Linked DNA regions of Homo sapiens: regions 2 and 3 are each linked to region 1. Evidence: promoter capture Hi-C in human tissues and cell types (Jung and others, 2019). All regions are on one chromosome and are shown on one strand. The core of a region is centred on a gene start or on the middle of the fragment in contact, and the rest is flanking DNA. Distances in the headings are between cores, read along the strand shown. Region 1 holds the start of TBX4 (T-box transcription factor 4). Region 2 has its middle 8.5 kb from the start of NACA2. Region 3 has its middle 84 kb from the start of NACA2.

Region 1 (4,029 bases), core at 151-2,650:
TACTTCTTGTTATCTAACCACAATTTGTTTTGTTAGGCTTGCTCATAACACTCCAGGTATTATTCTTCAACACACCCCGACAGTATCTTGTTACTTTGTCATTATTTGTAATGTTACAGATCTGAACTCGCTAGTTACTCATCACATCATTACTTCTTGTTATTTTGTCATACTTTGTAATATTGTTGTAGCTCTTAATACTCTGATTATTTTTCATCACATTGGTACAATACTTCTTATTACTCAACCATTATTTATAATGTTCTTGTGACTATTAATACATTGGTCATAAATTGTCATATTACTCCAGCAATTCTTGTTAATATGTCTTTATTTATATTACTATTGCTCCTAAGATTTTAGTTAATATTTCTTTTAATAGTTCACTGTAGTATCAATAATACATTATATTATTATATCACTACCACTAATAGTATTTCCCTTAATAGTATTTTCATTGTTCATCTTTCTCCTACAGTTCGTTTGCTAGTTTCCTACAGTTTGGTAATTTGTTACACTATTACTATATGTTATATTAGTGCAATTGGTTTTAATAAACAGTCCTTACATTGTTCCTCTATTTAGAATTACTTTGTCTTTAATCCTTTTAAAAATTGTGATTACTATTTTCACTTGATTCTGAAAGTGACTATGATTGTATTATTTGGAAGTTCACGTGTTATATCAGTTATGCCGATTAGCCCTTTCTTTGGTAATTGTTCACATTCCAATAATCTTTAATCATCGATCATTATTTATATATAATGTTCCTTGCTTTAATTTTGACTAGTCTATTGCATCAAAGGCTCTGAGTCTAGTGTTCTGATCACTCACATATCTACACGGATTTTCGCTCCAGTACCGGGGCCCTCTTCCTTGGCCTTGCATATTCTGCAAACACCAATTTCCAGGCCACCGCTCCGCCTGTCACGGCCTTGTTCTTAGGGTGCTGGCGCTGTCGATATTTCTATGCTCTTGGATCTCTAGACCCAATTCATCGCGTTACTCAGAGAGGAGGGCTCGTGCCCCAACTACTGGGTGTCGGGCCGAGGCGGCGGCCCGACCCAAGGCACTTCGCGCCGCCTTCCTGCAACTTTGACCGCCCCTGAAGTTCTTCCCCGGGTCGCGTGACTCACCCCTTTCCAGCTCATCCTCCTGTCCGTCCCCGCAGCCTAACCCTGAGCCCCTGTGGCCCCAGCCCCGCACGCCCAGCTCGTCCCCACTCGGCTGGAACCCACACTCACCCTAATTGCGGTGCCGCATGCGGAGGCGCCAGCGGCCCGAGGTCCCCTGCAGGTTCGGGTCCGAGGAGCGCGGGACGGCCGGGGCTCCGACTCCGCGCCGCTGGGTCAGGGTCCAGCTGCCTGCCGTGCCCTCGGGGCTGGACACATCCCGGCTCTGGAGCGGGCCCTTGATCTCCAAGGCTGCACTTTGGGGCCTCAATTCCCTCCTCCTCCCTCCCTCCCTCTGGGGCCGCCCCCCCTCCGCGCTGACGTCGCCGCTGTCAATCAGTCTGCGCCCGCTGTCCCCCGGGGAGGGGGGCTCCAGGGTTCCCCGGCGTCGCGGTCCCCAAGATCCCGAGCCCCACGCGAGCCGCCGGCTCCTCCACCGCGCGGCCCAGTGCCCTCCTCTTGGCCCTCGGGCCCCGCGAGCCGGGTAGGGGCTGGGAGCCCCGCATGGTTTAGATTAGAGAGGCGGGAAGCAAGGGCGAGCAGCCCGGCTCTCAGCCGAGGCTCGACAACCAGGAGGGCTCGCCTGGCCCCGCCGTGCCCGAAGACTAGGACGCTCCACGACCGGGTCTGGCCACCCCCTGCCGGCGCCCGCTTCCAGGCAGCGGCTTCTACGGATCCCCGGCCGCAGAGCCCCGCTCCCCAAGCCCTGCTCCCAGCTGTGCGCGCTGTTCATTTGGGAGCCCCGGTCCCGAGGTCGCAGGCGCACACGCGCCTCACAGGCCCACGCTCCGCTTCCCTACCATGCCCACCACGCGGCCTTGCACTTCCAGGCCCTGGGCACGGCCCTTCTGCTCACCCGCCCTCCTTGTCCCGGCCCAGGGGGCCGCGGGCGCTGGACCCGGCCTGGCGCGCCTCGAAGTCGGCCGCGGAGGTCAGGGGTGAGGACTGGGAGGAAGCCCGGTGGCCGGGTGCGGGGCGGCGGCGGCAGGGAAGTGCTGGGCCGGCCTCTGAGTGGAGCCGAGTCCGGCTCGGGCCTTGACAGAGCCCAGGCCGGGCTGCAAGGTGCCAGGCTTGGCAGAGCCTCCTGGGGAAACTGCGGCCCAGGGCCAGGATTCCGCGGCAGCTCCTTGAGATCCTGGAGAGCTGAAGAGGAAGCCCAATGCCTGCCCTAGTCTAGGAAGTGGAGACTGGGGAGCGTCCTGCTCCCAGCCACCCGGTTCTTTCCGCCTCAGAAACGGAGTCCCGCTCAGCACCTAGACCTCCCTGCCCAGCCTCTGAGCTCTCTGTCTCCACTTACCTCTGTTTCTCTCTGTCTGTACCTCCCACAGGACGCTGCCTTTCCACTAGCAGACGGACCCATGCGGACCCCAGCCCGTGCCCCAGCCTCCCCGCCTGTCACATGCCCAGAATCCTGGGGCAGAAATAGGCCTGCCCACCCATCTGCAAAGACAGCAGAATCCTCATCAATAAGGATCCCCAGAGTGGTCCCTTAGTGCTTAGCATGGGCTGCATCCCTCCCTCCACCAGTGTCCTCAACCAGCCTCTGTCCCTTTCCAGATTCTGACCTCAAAATCAGCTTGAAGGGGAGAGGACAGGGAAATTCTTTTCCTGGATGGGTCTGTCCCTGTTCTAATGCTAGGAAATGGAAAGCCAGCATCAATGCCTTCTTTACCACCCTGCACTCAAAGGTGGAAGCAAAAACGCCAACTCAGAAAAGCCAGTCGCTGCTGCTGTCAGGAGCCTGAAATCCACCTCAACAGTGGGCCGCTGCTCAAGTCCCTATCACCATTGCAGTACCAGGTCCCACCACCCTATCACCATTCCTCTCATGGAGTCTCAAACCAGGGAGGGGAAATAATATCTAAGAGGAGTGGAGGAGCAGAATCCTTCCCCAAACCTGCGGACTCCTGGAATGGAGAAAGGGAAGGCCCTGGCGTTTCAGGAGATGCCTGGGGAGTCGTGTTTCCTGTGTTAGGGAGACCTGGATGACATGCCTCAGCTTCTGCTCGCAAGCCCCCTCCCATGACCTCTCCAACAGCCTGTAGGGAAATCCCTTGCAAATAAATAGTATACAGACTAAGCAACCAACTACTGTGTGGAATGGTGAACAGGGAGGGCAGTGAATCACCAGGTACTATGGGAAGACTAGAGCTAGGCCAGACTCTGGAAAGAATTTGTTGACAGTCATTGGAGGAAGTTCATACTGAGATCGTATCGTATAGTTCTTTAATAAAACAAACAAACAAAAACAAACAAACTAGACTGGAACCTTCCTATAAGTGCAAGGCTTTCTGGAGACTGATGGCAGACAGTCTAAATTAATATCAACAGGTTCATGATGACATGGAGAAATGAGATATGGAAGGGACAGGTAAGCTTTTGGCAGTAAAAAGGAAGGGGCAAACCAGCCAGCAAGTGAGTAAATGAGAGCGGTTCTGTATGCACATTCCCCATTATTAGAATGGAATACCTCATTTAACTGACTCTAAGACACACATTTTTCACATTCTGGTATCTCTGAAACTGAGATGCATCTGATAGCTAGCGGTGTGTCATAGCTTAATTAGCAGCGTTTTTTCTTCTTAGTCGTATGTAAAATAATAGAAAAGCTTATAATGGATGCTGCATAGTATTTGCTGAAAAAGAGCCTGTGTAGAAGAGGAGAAGACCAATTTTTTTTTCTCCAAAACTACTTTGAGGAGTTCAAAATATGAAAACCCTCCTCAACTAGCTAAACAAATAACTGACGGTGCCACACATCGGTCACACTGATTTGGGTTGGCTTGGGGGAAAGTGCTCAGGTTTGGTAGCAGGCTCACCTTGGTTTTGAAACCTAGCTCTGATTCCTGGCTCACCA
Region 2 (4,121 bases), core at 1,324-3,823, 150 kb before region 1:
GGAGGGGTCACCAGGGCCAGATTGCGAAACATGTTACAGGCCTTCTTAAGGATTTTTTATTTTCTTCTAAGAGCAGTGGGAAGCAAGAGTTTTAGACTGAAGAATATCATGATTAGATTTGAATTTTAAAAGATCGATGTGCTTGCAATATGGAAAATGGATTAGATTTGAGGATGACAATAGTGGAAGCATGAATGCTCTTGCAGTGGTCTGGGTAAGAAAAGATTGCCTATCAAAAAAAAGCTTGGCCAGGTGCAGTGGCTCACGCCTGTTGTAATCCAGCACTTTGAGAAGCTGAGGCAGGAGGACTGCTTGAGCCCAGGAGTTTAAGACCAGCTTGGACAACATAGTGAGATCCCATATCTAAAACAAAACAAAACAAAACAAGAAACAAAAAACTAGTCGGGTTTGGTGACGCATGCCTATGGTCCCAGCTACTCGTGAGGTTGAGGTGGGAAGATCGCTTAAGCCCAGGAGTTGGAGGCTGCAGTGAGCTATGATCACGCCACTGCACTCCAGCCTGGGTGACAGACTTGTCTCAGAAAAAAAAAAAAAAAAAAAAAAGCTTGGCTTAGAGGTGATGTCAAAGTAGCTGTATAAAATAGAGTCAAGATCTGTTCTGGAATTAAAATAAACAGGACTGAGTGAAGAGGAAAATGTGTGGGAAAAGGGATATTGAATTAGAGTTCTTTGGTTGCTAATAATAAAAATCAAATCTGGCTTAAACAAAAAGGGAATTTTAAAAATAAGGATATTGGACAACTAAAAAAATTGATCAAAAGGGTGGAGAACTAGGCTTAGAAATGACAGGGGCCAAGTCAGTAGGAGCTAATTGACATTTTCACTGGGCTACTGCCACTGGAATGAAAGAGGTCCTACTGATTTTTCCTGTCTCACTGCACTTGTGACTCGAGTGGGAGGGAGGAAGGACCTTGTGTAGGAAGGAAAGAAGTTTAATATTGAGTTTGGTGGGGCAGAAAACAGGAAAATGCCGTCTAGACTTAAGAGGTCACTGGGAAGCTGAAGTCAATTGCTTTGATAATAGGAGAACTAAAGAGAAGTCCCAGAAAAGGCACTCCCAGCTAGCTGAGTTTAAGCCATATGGTTGGCTTTTGATAATCAAGACAATAAGAGTTACAGATCTTATGGAAGGAGGATATAATTGCATCTGAGAGCCCCATCAGCTTTCATAGAGCAAGGACAAGGTATCTCGATTTATAATATTCAAAATTTAGTAAAGAAAATCCTCACCCCCCAAATGTTAGGGTGATGTTAGGGAGGAAGATTGAATTTCAGATAGCCAAAGAAACATCAGATGCCCACCACAGAGGGGGAAGTCTAGGATGACTCCCTTTCTCAGACAATAGAGTTCTTGGACTTTACAAACACAAATATCTGGTTAACCCTCTTTAACAGTTAAGAGTCCAAATGATAGAAACATAAAAAACATCTTTACTCAAGGACCTGAGCTCTTTGCAGACTTTCTAGCTGAAAACAATTCAATTGTTGGGGGGCACACCCTTCAACAAATGAAAAATCAATTTTGGGACAAGATAAAGTATAGTCCCAAGTGCATACTAACGGGTTGGCAGCCAAGTACTTCTAACCTTCTGCACTTAGAGCCCTCTTTAACTCTCTTAAAGACTGAAAGACATCTTCTTTAGTTCTCCTATTATCAAAACTATTAAATTCAGCCTCTCAGCGACCTCTAAGTCTAGACAGCATTTTCTGTTGTCTGCCCCACCAAACTCATTATTAAACTTTCCTTCCTACACAATGTCCTCCCTCTCTCCCTTCCTTTTCTTCCTTCTCTGATCCAAGTAAGCAGTACTGTGGAATTTGAGGTCAGAAGCATGTGCTATTGCATAGGGGTACACCATTGAGAGGGATAACTTTTAGACTTAAGGACCTGCCATCTGCAACCAAACAACATCTAGAGAGCTGGGCATCTAATGTTCCACTTCGTGAGCATTAAGGGTGAATGCTATTCGTACTCTGGTCAAAAGCCCAGCCATTAGGAGTTCCAGAGAACAAATTCAACGTGGAAAATCCTGTAGTATTTAGAAAATTGGAATTGGTTCTCTAATTAAGTGATGATTAAATCTGTGATCCTCTTTGAAGACATAGCACTATTATCTGGACACAGCTCTGGAAGGTACATTTGTGAAGATGAGCCTGGATAAATGGGAACTACTCTAATAAGCTGAGATCTTTTAACAAACATGTTGGGGACAAAACGAATGTGGAAAGACTTATCCGTCCTAGTTAAGAGACTGTGATCTTTTGATCTCCGATCCCACAGTCACCTGTCAATGCAACACTTAGAAGCCATTTCAGATACCTTCTTAAGATTGCAGCTATCTGTGGATGGGGTCTGAACCATGCTTCAGCTTGCCCTATTCCCTTACCTAGTATAGATCCTTGTCCCTAATTTTGAGGCTCAGTCTGCCTGCTGCTTTAGTGAGTTCCAATCTAAATTAATCCCATTGTTTGTGCAATTTTTGATTACTGTTTTGCAATTACCCTTTTTCTGGTCCCTGCCATTTGACCGTGCCACTTGCTTAATTTTATCACAACCCCAATTTACACCATAGAGAAACTAATTTAACGTCTCTTAGTATTTGTAGGCAGGTCTAAGAGCAAAGCCTACACTGGTGAATAACTTCCCACCGGTTTTGAAGATCATCAGTGCAACTAAACCAATGAACACTTTTTAAAGGATGTAATGCCTGAAAGTAATATGATTGGCACTGAAGAGGAAGACAATACAAAGAACAGTCATGGTTCTTGCCTTCAAATAGCTTACTGTCTAGTGAGGGAGACAGCAATAGAAGCAATTAAATACAGTGTAAGTTGATGGAAAACAAGTCCAAAAAGCACCTGATTATACAGAGAGAGGAGTGGCCAGATGAGAACAGGGAAGACTTCACAAAGGAGTTAGAATGGGAGGCCAAGGCAGGAGGATTGCTTGAAGCCAGGAGTTCAAGACCAGCCTGGGCAACACAGGGAGACCCAGTTTCTTAAAACAAACAAACAAACTCAAAATAAGAGCAAATGTTTATATAGTATCATGTACCAGGTACAGGTACTGCTCTGAATGCTTTACATATATTAACTCACTTTAAATTATTTTAATAGGATTTTAATATATAACTATAGAGGGAAGAGCATAAGTCAGACACAAAAGCCTAACTCATAAATTCTTTCTCATCTGTAAAAGGGGTTAGACTAATATTATCTCCTTCTCAAAACTGATCAGAAAACTATCTAGATTAGACTGATTGGAGAAGTAAGCCAGGTGGCCGAATAGAGATACCCTGAAACAAGATCTTGTTTCAGGGTATCTCTGTGTTTATTCTCTGTACTACAAAAAGCTAGATTATGGAGCCACTTTACCTACCTGTAACTGTGGCCTTATATTATTTTTTACGTATAAATCTCAACAAGTAGTACAGGATTTTTTTCCCATTCAAACAAGATAAGTATTTAAGGGTGTGTTGCTGTAGACACAAGGGAAGTACAAGAGAAAGAAAGGGCTACTTTCCCCAGCCACGAGCACAGGAAAAAGCCCTAAGCCCTTGGGTAGAGGCAACAAAAGCAGGAGTTTAGTATTTCATCACAGAACCCAAGAGAATAATCTCTAATTATCCAGGTAGGGAAGAAAAGACACTTAGACCATTTGTCTAATGCTATGGAAGGAGCTGGTGTTGGGCAATGGATTAAATCTAATTCAGCTAATATATTTGATCAGATGCAGTTAGAATAACCTTTCAGGTTTAGACTGAGGGACTCAGGTTGCTAAATAAGCAGGAGGTAGAACGCATGACTCTGATAATTGTGGCTAATTTTGAACTACCATATCCTGCCTGTAAGCAAGCAAGCTGTCATTTTGAGACCAGGGCCAGCCCTTCATTTCCATTTACAGTCCTGTGAACCCCTGAGGCATACAAATTAAAGCTGGCCACTTATGGAGATCTCTTTGGGACCACTTATATGAAATGACGAATAGGGTTAAATTCTAAAAAATTAAATCTAAAGAGATTTCCCAGAAGTTATGCATAAACCGTCATTAGGTACATTTTCCATTTTGAATTCTTGTGGATAGGAGCCAATAGGATGGT
Region 3 (4,203 bases), core at 1,251-3,750, 220 kb before region 1:
TGGTATCTCATTGTGGTTTTGATTTGCATTTCTCTGATGACCAGTGATGATGAGCATTTTTTCATGTGTCTGTTGGCTGTATAAATGTCTTCTTCTGAGAAGTGTCTGTTCATATCCTTTGCCCACTTTTTGATGGGTTTTTTTCTTGTAAATTTGTTTAAGTTCTTTGTAGATTCTGGATATTAGCCCTTTATCAGATGGGTAGATTGCAAAAATTTTCTCCCATTCTGTAGGTTGCCTGTTCACTCTGATGGTAGTTTCTTTTGCTGTGCAGAAGCTCTTTAGTTTAATTAGATCCCATTTATCAATTTTGGCTTTTGTTGCCATTGCTTTTGGTGTTGTGGTCATGAAGTCTTTGCCCATGCCTATGTCCTAAATGGTATTGCCTAGGTTTTCTTCTAGTGTTTTTATGGTTGTAGGTCTAATATTTAAGTCTTCAATCCATCTTGAATTAATTTTGGTGTAAGGTATAAGGAAGGGATCCAGTTTCAGCTTTCTACATATGGCTAGCCAGTTTTCCCAGCACCATTTATTAAATAGGGAAAATTCCTACTTAATATTGGTCTCTTTTTTGGTTGTGTCTCTGCCAGGCTTTGGTGTCAGGATGATGCTGGCCTCATAAAATGAATTAGGGAGGATTCCCTCTTTTTCTATTGATTGGAATAGTTAGAGAAGAAATGGTACCAGCTCCTCTTTGTACCTCTGGTTGAATTTGGCTGTGAATCTCTCTGGTCTTGGACTTTTTTTGGTTGGCAGGCTATTAATTATTGCCTCAATTTCAGAACCTGTTATTGGTCTATTCAGAGATTCACCTTCCTGGTTTAGTCTTGGGAGGGTGTATGTGTCGAGGAATTTATCCATTTCTTCTAGATTTTCTAGTTTATTTGCATAGAGGTGTTTATAGTAGTCTCTGATGGTAGTTTGTATTTCTGTGGGATCGGTGGTGAAATCCCCTTTATCATTTTTTACTGCATCTATTTGATTCTTCTTTCTTTTCTTCTTTATTAGTCTCGCTAGTGGTCTATCAATTTTGTTGATCTTTTCAAAAACCAGCTCTGGATTCACTGACTTATTTTGAAGGGTTTTTTGTGTCTCTATCTCCTTTAATTCTGCTCTGATCTTAGTTATTTCTTGCCTTCTGCTAGCTTTTGAATTTGTTTGCTCTTGCTTCTCTAGTTCTTTTAATTGTGATGTTAGGGTGTCAATTTTAGATCTTTCCTGCTTTCTCTTATGGGCATTTAGTGCTATAAATTTCCCTCTACACACTGAGAGATTCTGGTACGTGGTGTCTTTGTTCTCATTGGTTTCAAAGAACATCTTTATTCCTGCTTTCGTTTTGTTATTTACCCAGTAGTCATTCAGGAGCAGGTTGTTCAGTTTCCATATAGTTGTGTGGTTTTGAGTGAGTTTCTTAATCCTGAGTTCTAATTGGATTGTACTGTGGTCTGAGAGACAGTTTGTTGTGATTTCTGTTCTTTTATATTTGCTGAGGAGTGCTTTACTTCCAATTATGTGGTCAGTTTTGGAATAAGTGCGATGTGGTGCTGAGAAGAATGTATATTCTGTTGATTTGGGGTGGAGAGTTCTGTAGATTTCTATTAGGTCCACTTGGTGCAGAGCTGAGTTCAAGTCCTGGATATCCTTGTTAACCTTCTGTCTTGTTGATCTGTCTAATATTGACAGTGGGGTGTTAAAGTCTCCCATTATTATTGTGTGGGAATCTAAGTCTCTTTGTAAGTCTCTAAGGACTTGCTTTGTGAATCTGGGTGCTCCTGTATTGGATGCATATATATTTAGGATAGTTAGCTCTTCTTGTTGAATTGTTCCCTTTACCATTATGTAATGACCTTGTCTCTTTTGATCTTTGTTGGTTTAAATTCTGTTTTATCAGAGCCTAGGATTGCAACCCCTGCTTTTTTTGGCTTTCCATTTGCTTGACAGATCTTCCTCCATCCCTTTATTTTGAGCCTATGTGTGCACGTGAGATGGGTCTCCTGAATATAGCACACTGATGGGTCTTGACTTTTTATCCAATTTGCCAGTCTGTATCTTTTAATTGGGGCATTTAGCCCATTTACATTTAAGGTTAATATTATTATGTGTGAATTTGATCCTGTCATTATGATGTTAGCTGGTTATTTTGCCCACTAATTGTTGCAGTTTCTTCATAGCATTGATGGTCTTTACAATTTGGCATGTTTTTGCAGTAGCTGGTACTGGTTGTACCATGTTTAGTGCTTCCTTCAGGAGCTATTGTAAGGCAAACCTGGTGGTGACAGAATCTCTCAGCATTTGGTTGTTCGTAAAGGATTTTATTTCTCCTTCACTTATAAAGCTTAGTTTGACTGGATATGAAATTCTGGGTTGAAAATTCTTTTCTTTAAGAATGTTGCATATTGGCTTCCACTCTCTTCTGACTTGTAGGGTTTCTGCCGAGAGATCTGCTGTTAGTCTGATGGGTTTCCCTTTGTGGGTAACCTGACCTTTCTCTCTGGCTGCCCTTAACATCTTTTCCTTCATTTCAACCTTGGTGAATCTGAAAATTATGTGTTTTGGGGTTGCTGTTCTCAAGGAGTATCTTTGTGGTGTTCTCTGTATTTCCTGAATTTGAATGTTGGCCTGCCTTGCTATGTTGGGGAAGTTCTCCTGGGTAATATCCTGAAGAGTGTTTTCCAACTTGGTTCCATTCTCCCCGTCACTTTCAGGTACACCAATCAAACGTAGATTTGGTCTTTTCACATAGTCCCATATTTCTTGGAGGCTTTGTTCGTTTCTTTTTACTCTCTTTAATCTTGTCTTCTTGCTTTATTTCATTAATTTGATCTTCAATCACTGATACCCTTTCTTCCACTTGATCAAATCAGCTGTTGAAGCTTGTGCATGCGTCACGAAGTTCTCATGCCATGGTTTTCAGCTCCATCAGGTCATTTAAGGTCTTCTCTACACTGTTTATTCTAGTTAGCCATTCGTCTAACCCTTTTTCAAGGTTTTTAGCTTTCTTGTGATGGGTTAGAACATGCTTCTTTAGCTCAGAGAAGTTTGTTATTACCGACCTTCTGAAGCCTATTTCTGTCAACTCGTCAAAGTCATTCTCCGTCCAGCTTTGTTCCATTGCTGGTGAGGAGCTGCGATCTTTTGGAGGAGAAGCAGCACTCTGGTTTTTAGAATATTCAGCTTTTCTGCTCTGGTTTCTCCCCTTCTTTGTGGTTTTATCTATCTTTGGTCTTTGATGTTGGTGACCTACAGATGGGCTTTTGGTGTGGATGTCCTTTTTGTTGATGTTGATGCTATTCCTTTATGTTTTGTTAGTTTTCCTTCTAACAGTCAGGTCCCTCAGCTGCAGGTCTGTTGGAGTTTGCTGGAGGTCCCCTCCAGACCCTGTTTGCCTGGGTATCACCAGCGGAGGCTGCAGAACAGCAAATATTGCTGCCTGATCCTTCCTCTGGAAGCTTCGTCCCAGAGGGGCATCTGCCTGTATGAGGTGTCTGTCGGCCCCTACTGGGAGGTGTCTCCCAGTTAGGCTAAACGGGGGTCAGGGACCCACTTGAGGAAGCAGTCTGTCCGTTCTCAGAGCTCAAACGCCGTGCTGGGAGATCCACTGCTCTCTTCAGAGCTGTCAGACAGGGATGTTTAAGTCTGCAGAAGTTTCTGCTGCCTTTTGTTCAGCTATGCCCTGCCCACAGAGGTAGGGTCTACAGAGGCAGCAGGCCTTGCTGGGCTGCAGTGGGCTCCACCCAGTTTGAGCTTCCTGGCCACTTTGTTTACCTACTCAAGCCTCAGCAATGGCGGATGCCCCTCCCCTAGCCAGGCTGCAGCCTTGCAGGTTGATCTCAGACTGCTGCTCTAGCAGTGAGCAAGGCTCCGTGGGCATGGGACCTGCCAAGCCAGGCACAGGAGATAATCTCCTGGTCTGCCGGTTGCTAAGACTGTGGGAAAAGCACAGTATTTGGGTGGGAGTGTCCTGTTTTTTCCAGGTACAGTCTGTCACGGCTTCCCTTGGCTAGGAAAGTGAAATCTCCCAACCCCTTGTGCTTCCTGGGTGAGGCAATGCCCCACCCTGCTTCGGCTCGCCCTCTGTGAGCTGTACCCACTGTCCAACCAGTCCAAATGAGATGAACCAGGTACCTCAGTTGGAAATGCAGAAATCGCCTGTCTTTTCCATTGATCACGCTGGGAGCTGCAGACCAGAGCTGTTCCTATTCG

Evidence for each region. Contacts are between HindIII fragments. The study calls those that stand out against the background at their distance.
Region 2: a fragment that was not itself captured here is called in contact with the fragment with the promoter of TBX4 in region 1 in 2 of the 25 tissues and cell types used here (IMR-90 fibroblasts and dorsolateral prefrontal cortex).
Region 3: a contact is called between a fragment that was not itself captured here and the fragment with the promoter of TBX4 in region 1, in 2 of the 25 tissues and cell types used here (bladder and heart right ventricle).

What each region holds. Positions count from the first base shown.
Region 1 is chr17:61,449,793-61,453,821 of GRCh38, reverse strand. TBX4 (T-box transcription factor 4) reads right to left here and starts at 1,400. Exons shown (of 9, transcript NM_001321120.2): 1 at 1,245-1,400. LOC124904042 (a long non-coding RNA gene) reads left to right here. Exons shown (of 2, transcript XR_007065872.1): 2 at 1-580. RefSeq lists an enhancer at 589-1,430. The HindIII fragment of the contact is 13,471 bases long and covers 1-4,029 here.
Region 2 is chr17:61,597,610-61,601,730 of GRCh38, reverse strand. No RefSeq gene overlaps it. Among named protein-coding and RNA genes, the nearest start is that of NACA2, 8.5 kb to the right of the region's middle. The HindIII fragment of the contact is 4,338 bases long and covers 405-4,121 here.
Region 3 is chr17:61,673,066-61,677,268 of GRCh38, reverse strand. No RefSeq gene overlaps it. Among named protein-coding and RNA genes, the nearest start is that of NACA2, 84 kb to the right of the region's middle. The HindIII fragment of the contact is 4,606 bases long and covers 198-4,203 here.